2 separate regions of the Homo sapiens genome follow, and region 2 is linked to region 1. The links are contacts of gene promoters, found by promoter capture Hi-C in blood cells and fetal thymus (Javierre and others, 2016). All regions are on one chromosome and are shown on one strand. Each heading gives the region's core, a stretch centred on a gene start or on the middle of the fragment in contact. The rest is flanking DNA. Distances are from core to core; before and after follow the strand shown. Region 1 holds the start of RHEX (regulator of hemoglobinization and erythroid cell expansion). Region 2 overlaps SLC41A1 (solute carrier family 41 member 1).

The links. The method cuts DNA at HindIII sites, captures the fragments that hold promoters and counts their contacts. A CHiCAGO score of 5 or more calls a contact.
Region 2: a fragment that was not itself captured here is called in contact with the fragment with the promoter of RHEX in region 1 in 1 of 17 cell types (erythroblasts); the score reaches 5.2 in erythroblasts.

The regions. Positions count from the first base shown.
Region 1 is chr1:206,051,449-206,057,553 of GRCh38, forward strand. RHEX (regulator of hemoglobinization and erythroid cell expansion) reads left to right here and starts at 1,725. Exons shown (of 6, transcript NM_001007544.4): 1 at 1,725-1,817. It overlaps LOC105372857 (a long non-coding RNA gene), which reads right to left. Exons shown (of 3, transcript XR_922473.3): 3 at 1,995-6,105. RefSeq lists enhancers at 1,121-1,360, 1,781-1,840. The HindIII fragment of the contact is 7,500 bases long and covers 1-4,614 here.
Region 2 is chr1:205,795,588-205,798,287 of GRCh38, forward strand. It overlaps SLC41A1 (solute carrier family 41 member 1), which reads right to left. Exons shown (of 11, transcript NM_173854.6): 7 at 2,317-2,464; 8 at 1,337-1,416. Among named protein-coding and RNA genes, the nearest start is that of SLC41A1, 16 kb to the right of the region's middle. The HindIII fragment of the contact is 5,369 bases long and covers 1-2,700 here.

The sequences.
Region 1 (6,105 bases), core at 475-2,974:
CTAGACACTGGGGGTGAAATGTTGGCCAAAACAGATAAGGTCTCTGTTCTTATGAAGCTCACATTCATGTGATGAGAGGCTGACAATAATCAAGTAAACAAATAAATGATCAAGGTGACTTCAGATACTAATAGATGAGAGGGCGATGTGACAGATAGGGTCTGGGGAGCCACCTTTGAATTTGTGCTGAATTCTATCTGAAGATGCCTTCACTAAGAGAGAGGTGCTGTCTCCATGGCCTTTGAGGCCCTCCCCTCCAGTGGTGAGATTTTAACAATCTCCCCATCTGACAGGTTCCCATGCAGGAATGAAAGACATGGAAGGGAAGAGGGGGGCCAGCTCCCTGAGTCCTGTGTCCACCAGCTGCTGCTAAATACCTCTGAGAAACTCTGCTTCTATCTAAGGGGACCTACTTCTCTCGGGAATCTCAATACTTGGAACAAGAACCTCCTAGACGGACCCTTTGGCATAATGAATTGGACCAACTGTAGGTTCCAGGACTAGAGAGCCAGCAATGCCTCCATGAACAATCTCACCCAATTACTCTGCTCAGGTAAGACCAACTGAAAACTAGAACAATACAAATGGTGGTTATTCCTGTCTTCTGTTTCTTTGTTTGTTTTTGTGACAGGGTCTTGCTCTGTCACCCAGGCTAGAGTACAATGGTGTGATCATGGCTCACTGCAGCCTCGACTTCCCTAGCTTAAGTGATTCTCCTATCTCAGCCTCTCAAGGAGCTGGGACTACAGGCATGCAGTAGCACACCCAGCTAATTTTCGGATTTTTTTTTTTTAAAGTAGAGACAAGGTCTAGCTATATTGCCCAGGCTGGTCTCAAACTCTTGAGCTCAGGCGGTCCTCCTGCCTTGACTTCCCAAAGTGCTGAGATTATAGGCGTGAGCCACTGGGCCTGGCTCGTTATTACTGTTGAATAATAGTCTGATCACTGAGTTCTTAAACAACTCCATGAGGTAGGCATTCATATTCTGTCTGTTTCACAGATGAGGCTCAGAAAAGCTAAGTGTTTGTCCTAAGATCACAGTTAGGAAGTGTCTGAGACCCAGGTCACTGTGAGGGAAGAGAGAGACCCTCTCATATTGTTTTATATTGTTTTATACTCAGTACCTGTTTTAAGGAAAAACAACAAGGAAGTAAAACCAAAGACAGGCAGTCCGGCGCCAGGCCCGAAACCAGGCCTGGGCCTGCCTGGCCTAAACCCAGTAGTTAAAAATCAACTCATAACTTAGAAACTGATGTTATTCATAGATTCCAGACATTGTATAGAAGAACATTGTGAAACTCCCTGCCCTGTTCTGTTTCTCTCTGACCACCGGTGCATGCAGCCCCTGTCACATACCGCCTGCTTGCTCAAATCAATCATGACCCTTTCATGTGAAATCTTTAGTATTGTGAGCCCTTAAAAGGGACGGAAATTGTGCATTCGGGGAGCTCGGATTTTAAGGCAGTAGCCTGCTGATGCTCCCAGCTGAATAAAGCCCTTCCTTCTACAATTTGGTGTCTGAGGGGTTTTGTCTGCGGCTCGTCCTGCTACATTTCTTGGTTCCCTGACCAGGAAACGAGGTAACTGATGGACAGCCGAGGCAGCCCCTTAGGCGGCTTAGGCCTCCCCTGTGGAGCATCCCTGAGGCGGACTCCGGCCAGCCCGAGTGACGCGATCCAAAGAGCACTCCCGGGTAGGAAATTGCCCCGGTGGAATGCCTCACCAGAGCAGCGTGTAGCAGTTCCCTGTGGAGGATTAACACAGTGGCTGAACACCGGGAAGGAACTGGCACTTGGAGTCCGGACATCTGAAACTTGGTAAGACTAGTCTTTGGAACTTGCCCCACTCCATCTAGGTGGAAGTGTGGCCTGATCACCCACGACATGCCTGCATTGGCACTTCTGTTCTGGTTTTGACTTGACTTAGATTGTGTGATACTTTGGTTTTGGTTTTGGTTTTGACCTGGCTTGGATTTCTGGATACTCTGATTTTGGTTTTGATTTTGGTTTGGTGTAAACTGCAAGAGTGTGTATGCCCTTTTTACCTGTTTTTTTGTTTGTGGCATGTGTGTGGTGTGGGTGTGGTGTTTTGTCTCGAAGAAGCATGGGTCAGGTACAAATAAGCCCACCCCACTAGGAACTATGTTAAAAAAAAATTCAAGAAAGAATTTAAGGGAGATTACAGTGTTACTGTGACACCAGGAAAACTTAGAACTTTGTGTGAAATAGACTGGCCAGCATTAGAGGTGGGTTGGCCATCAGAAGGAAGCCTGGACAGGTCCCTTGTTTCAAAGGTATGACACAAGGTAACCCGTAAGCCAAGGCACCCAGACCAGTTTCCATACATAGAAAGTTACAGCTGCTTTTATACCCCCTTGCCCCGCCAACGTAGTTAAGAGAACAGCAGCATAAGCGGCTGGCAGAGGCAAGGAAAGACCAGTAGAGAGAAAAAAAGGCCATCTATACCAATTCTAAGTTAATTTAGACTAAACAAGGTCTTAATAGCAAAGGATAATTGAAATCCCAAACTTACAAGGTTTTCAACAAAAGTGAAGTTTGCTTAAAGTTAACAGTGTAACATGTATTATGGTAACTTCTAATCTTGTGGCCTTAGACAGTCTAGTCCAAAGGCATAAAGAAAGTTTGCTTTAAAAAAAAAAAAAAGGAATGGTTATCTTCAAAAAAAAAAAAAAGTGGGGGGAGACAGAATTTATGTAAAAAGAGTGTTATATGGTAAATTCTTGTCCTGAAATAAACTAACTGGTGTTTAAAGAAAAAAAATGTTTGTAATAAGTCAGAAAGTTGAGACACATTGAAGAATTGTCGGCAAAAGTCGTGAAAGAAAAAATGTTATAAAAAAATTTATGCAAAAAATGTTGTATAATTTAAAAGTAATAAGGCCTCCTGAGTACTATTAAAAAAACAGTTTATGTGCAAGGTGTATAAGAAAAGTAAAACATACCTTTGGTAAAAAGATTATAAAGGGGCATAAGAATGTGGATTTTTACCTACATTAAAAGGTTAAAAACAATTATTGTTTTAAAAGTTTAAGCAAGTTTTAAAACGTTAATTATAAAGAAAATTCTGTGTGTAAACATATTAGCTAAAGTTAAAAAGGTATCATCCAGTTTTTCTGTGAACTGGACATTAAAGTAAAAAATGCCACAGGTTTTTCTTAAAGCATCAACCTGCTCTTTAACAAAAATTATAAAAGGTTAAAAAGAGTCTATAAAATCTTACCTTATGGTCAAACATGAAAAATTGGATAAATATGTCTACAAGGTTTTATTAAAATTCAGTTTAAAATTAATAACACACTAATATAAAGGTAAAATTTAGCTTATCTGGTATAAAAATCATACAAGAAACATTATTAAATATAAAATGGTGTTTAGCTTTCTTTGGTCTAAAAACTAATAAAAATTGGTGCTAAAGGAAACATTCATTTTACTAGAGGATCATAAAAGTTAAAGACTTAAAACAAACTTTGGCAATTAAGACAGCACGCCAAGATGCAAGTGCCTGGCTGAAATGGATCAAATATTCCATCTGCACTTTAAACAAATGCAATTGTTATGCTTGTGCACATGGCAGGCCAGAGGCCCTGATTGTCCCCCTTCCACTAAGGTGGTCCTCCAGTTGACCAGGCATGGGCTGCAGGGTAGCTATTTTCCAGGTTTCTACAGCTTGGAGTAATAAGTCATGCCAAGCTCTCTCTGCTATATCCCAAAGTCCCTGCGGGTCAGCCCCTGAGGGCCGTCCAGCTTCCGTCTCCCAACACTAAGTTCACTTCATGTCTCTCATGGCAGGGAGGAGACTTAGCATTCCTTGGAGACCTGAAGGGATGCAGTGAGCTTAAGAATTTTCAAGAGCTTATCAGTCAGTCAGCCCTTGTTCATCCCCGAGCGGATGTGTGATGGTATTGTCGTGGACCTTTATTGGGCACTCTGCCGAATAACTAGAGTGGCACTTGTGCTTTAGCCTATTTGGCTATCCCTTTCACCCTGGCATTTCATCAACCAGAGGAAGGAAAAAAAAAATAATAAGACATCGTAAAGCGAGAGAAGCCCCTTATGGGTCTTTCAACTCTCACATCTATTTAGATGCAATCGAAGCCCCGCAAGGAACACCAGATCAATTTAAAGTCCGAAATCAAATAGCTACAGGATTTAAGTCAATATTTTGGTAGATGACAGTCAATAAAAATGTAGATTAGATAAACTGCATCTATTACACCCAACAGCAATGAGCTTTTCATGAGTTGAAAAAAAGAAAAAACCCATGTCGGCCCCAGCCCTGGGGCTACCTGACCTGACAAAACCTTTTACACTCTATGTGTCAGAAAGAGAAAAAGTGGCAGTTGGAGTTTTAACCCAGACTGTAGGGCCCTGGCCAAGGCCAGTGGCCTATCTCTCAAAACAACTAGATGAGGTTTCCAAACGCTGGCCCCCATGTCCAAAGTCCCTGGTAGCAATAGCCCTGTTAGCACAAGAAGCAGATAAGCTAACTCTTAGACAAAACCTAAACATAAAGTCCCCCTATGCTGTGGTGATTTTAATAAATACCAAAGGACACCATTAGCTAATGAATGCTAGACTAGCTAGATACCAAAGCTTGCTCTGTGAACATCCCCGCATAACCATTGAAGTTTGCAACACCTAAACCCCGCCACCTTCCTCCCGGTGTCAGAGAGCCCAGTTAAACATAACTGTGTAGAGGTATTGGACTCAGTTTATTCTAGTGGGCCTAACCACCGAGACCATCCTTAAACATCAGTAGACTGGGAGCTGTACATGGATGGGAGCAGCTTCACCAACCCCTGCAAAGTGACTCTGAAGAAGACGACAAGCCCTGCTCCAGTCACACCCGGAAGCTGACTGGTCCACGCACAGCTGAAGCATGAGGAAACTCATCGCGGGACTAATTTTCCTTAAAATTTAGACTTGCACAGTAAGGACTTCAACTGACCTTCCTCAGACTGAGAACTGTTTCCAGTATATACATCAAGTCACTGAGGTAGGACAAAAGATTGCTACATTCCTATTATTTTATGGTTATTATAAGTGTACCAGGACTCTAAAAGAAACTTGTTTGTATAATGCTATTCTATCCAAGGTATGTAGCCCAGGAAATAACCAACTTGATGCGTGTTATGACCCATTTTAAGCCTCCCATGATCACAGTTTTTAAAATACAATTAAGGACTGGTCCTTTTCTAGGTGACACAAGAAAGGTAATAGCTAGAACAGAAGAAAGAGGGGTCCCCAAAAATGTAACCTTAAAATTTGACACTTGTGCCACTATTGATAGTAAGCAGCATGGATGAGGATGTGGTTCTCTAAATTGGAAAAAAAAGTTACACAGTAAAAAAAAATAAGTATATCTGTCAAGAATCATATTTATGTGAGATGTGTCAATACTGGTCTTGCGTTATTTCGGCTACTTGAAAATAAGTTAAAAAAGATAGTGTTTGGTTCCAAAAAGGAAAAGTCAGCCTCTCCTGCATGAGTGGGAGCTGCAACCTTTTAGAATTGATAATCACAAACCCCTCAGACCCAAAGTGGAATAAAGAAAAATATGTAACATTAGGCATTGATGGAAAAGGACTAGATCCTAGTGTAAGCATCCTAATAAAAGGAGAGGTTCAAAAACGTTCTCCAGAACCAGTATTTCAGACTTTCTATGATGAACTAAATGTGCCAGTACCTGAGATTCCAGGAAAAACTAAAAATTTGTTTTTGCAATTAGCCAAACATGTAGCCCAGTCTCTACAAGTCGCCTATGTCATGTTTGTGGAGGAACCGTAACAGGAGATCAATGGCCATGGGAAGCCCGAGAATTGGTTCCTATAGACCCGGTTCCTGATGAATTCCCAGCCCAAAAGAACCACCCTGACAAATTTTGGGTTCTGAAAGTCTTATTATTGGACAGTATTGCATAGCTAGAGAAGGAAAAGGATTTACTCATCCTGTAGGGCAGCTTAGTTGTCTTGGGCAAAAGCTGTATAATGGTACCACAAAAACAGTTACATGGTGGAGTTCCAATTACACAGAAAAAAATCCATTCAGTAAATTTCCAAAGTTGCAGACTGTTTGGGCCCACCCAG
Region 2 (2,700 bases), core at 201-2,700, 260 kb before region 1:
CTTAATTTAGGGTCTATGTGGGCATCACCCATTCACCAGTCCCCAAAAGAAGAGTAAGGCACTAAGAAGGAAGACAAAGACCCCTGCTTCCAGTGCATCTTCCAGCCTCCCCCATCCTCCCCTCTATGGAGATGCAGCAGTTCCATGTTCCCCTGGCAAAGCTGTGACAGTGCCGGAAAGGATACGTGCAGATCTGCAGACTCAGAGAGCCTGACTTCTCCACCAGTAGAGCATGGGCACCTGCCTTCCTACACAGCTGAGGGGATGAAGCCCTGCCTTGCCTCACCGCCTCACCTCCTCTCCAATGCTCTGAGCAGACCCAGGCATCCTATGGTCATATGCTGATTCTGGTAACCAGTTTCAAGGATCAGGTTTGAGCTCCAAACTCTGGAATCTGGTATCTCCGCCAGGACCTGTGCTGATTTCTCTGTTGCCCTCACATCCCAACCTGCTCCCTGCTCTTCTCAGCCTTGCTCTGAGCTCTGGGGGACTGGTCTCCACAGACTGCATTACCCAGTCTCCCTTGCTGGCTGCTTCCACTGTTTGTTCAGTGGGAGGCAACAGCAGGCAACCAGAGGGCAGGTGGAGAGAGAGATCAGGTATTTCTTTCCCAATCCCTCCCTGCTTTTCAGCATTGGCTTCCCCATGTTGGGGGCAAAGACAGAGCTTTCACTGGACTCCTATAATGCTATTCCCTCGTTACTATGGTTTGAATATAGTTTGTCCCCAACAAAACTCATGTTGTGGCTTGGTCCCCAAATGTGGTGGTGGGAGGTGGTGCCTTTAAGAGTGAATAGGTTATTAAGATGGATTAATGTCTTTCTTGGGAAAGGTATAGTTCCCATGAGAGTGGGTTGTCATAAAGCGAGGTTTGCCTCTCTTGTTTTGCCCATTTTGCACATGCCCAGTTTTCCTTCTGTTTCTCCATTTGGATGTTTGGATGCAGCATGAGGCCCTCACTAGAAGCAGCTGCTCAATCTTGAACTTCCCAGCTTCCAGAACTGTGAGCTAAATAAACTTCTTTTCGTTATAAATTAGCCAGTTTCAAGTATTCTGTTCTAGCAACAGATAATGGACTATGATACTCCCCTTGACCCTTTAGGAGTAGAGGCTTCCCATTGCTGCTAATCTCTCGGTGCCTCAACATCCCTTATCTGTCCTTTTACTCTGCTCCCACCTCTGTAAGCAGTCCCTTCATTAAGGTCTTGAACCATCTGAGCTAGATTCTCGTCTGCTGGAACCCTGACTGATACAGAAACCAACCCCTTAAGTCCTCTTCTCCTGTCCCTTTCCTTCCCCCAGCCCTGCCCTCTGATAGCTGATGCCCAGACCTCACCATTAATCACAGGCGTGAAGACAGCCATCCCAGCAAAGTTGGGGTCTGAGACAGTCTTGTCCAAGATGAGGCCTCCCACACTATAGAGACATAAAGACAAAATGACGCAAAGACCACTGAAGGGTTCTGCCTTAGTCTCTGGGATGAGAGGTCCAGGCCCACCTATCCTTGGAGATGAAGGGAAGCACCATGGCTCTCAGGAGTTCCTCACCATCCAGTCCTTGCCTCCCTTGACAGGATTAGGTGCTGCTCATAACATTCTGACTGGGCACAGTGACTCCAGAACAAGCTGGTGGTACTGGGTCAGGCAACCACCTCCTGTACCTGCCCTCTAAGTTGGCCGGAGGAGCAGCCTGCAGGACTATCTGCCTCTGAGGACCTCTGTTGTTCTGCCCACTCAGCATTTACTTCCCTTTCTGGTGATAGCACTGGGCTCCTCCACAGGGAACCACCTCTCTCAAGCTCAGTGACTGTGGCTCAGGTGACAATGCCTCAATGATAGCTAGGCTCCAGGTCCATCCAATCAGAGGATTGCAGCCCCAAGGCCACGCTGACTGGTTTGGAGATAATCATGTCACCAGATGAGAAGCAGTGGAACTCTATTCTGGGACTTTGTGGAACTGTTGGGGGAAGAATCTCTCTTCCCACTGGAATTTGTAGGAGTAAGAAAAGCATAAACCTGGGCTGTAGGCCATGACAGAGAAGAGCAGAGCTAAGAGTCACAGAGTACTGGGGCCCTGATCTTAGGTATGTCGCTGAATTCAGCTGTGCCTTTTTGGTTCTCCAGGCCAATACATTCTGCCTTGGAATGAAACCCAGTTCAGATGGTTTCTGTCATTTTCAACAGAAGGACATGTGACTGAAACACTAATGAACACATTTCTAGGGTCTGACCCCCACCCCATCTCTCCAGGGTTTAAAAAGAAGTCTGTGGAAGGGTTGGAGTGGGGTAGGAGTGGATACTCAGGGCCCCAGCCTACCTGCTGATGGCCATGGCAATGATAACAGGCTCCCAGCCCGAGTACAACACCTCCCTTGTGGCTGGACTTCGTCGGGCCAGCACCACCCAGACAGGCAGCAGGGCCACAAAGAAAGCACACACCAGTGGGTAGATGTATCGCCAGTGATCTGAGAGGGCAGAGGTCAGAAGGAGATAAGCACTGTGTTTCCCTACCCTAAGTTTCTCCCTGGCTCAGCCTGAAAATGTCCCAACAGATCAATAGCAAGACTACACTAAATGCCAGTAAACACATTATCCCATTTGATCTTCACTGGCAGCTCAGGAGGTAGGTGGGACAAGCCTTTTCCATTTTATGGATGAGGAAACCAAGGGAGAGAGCTAGCCAGGCACTGAGCCAATTAGG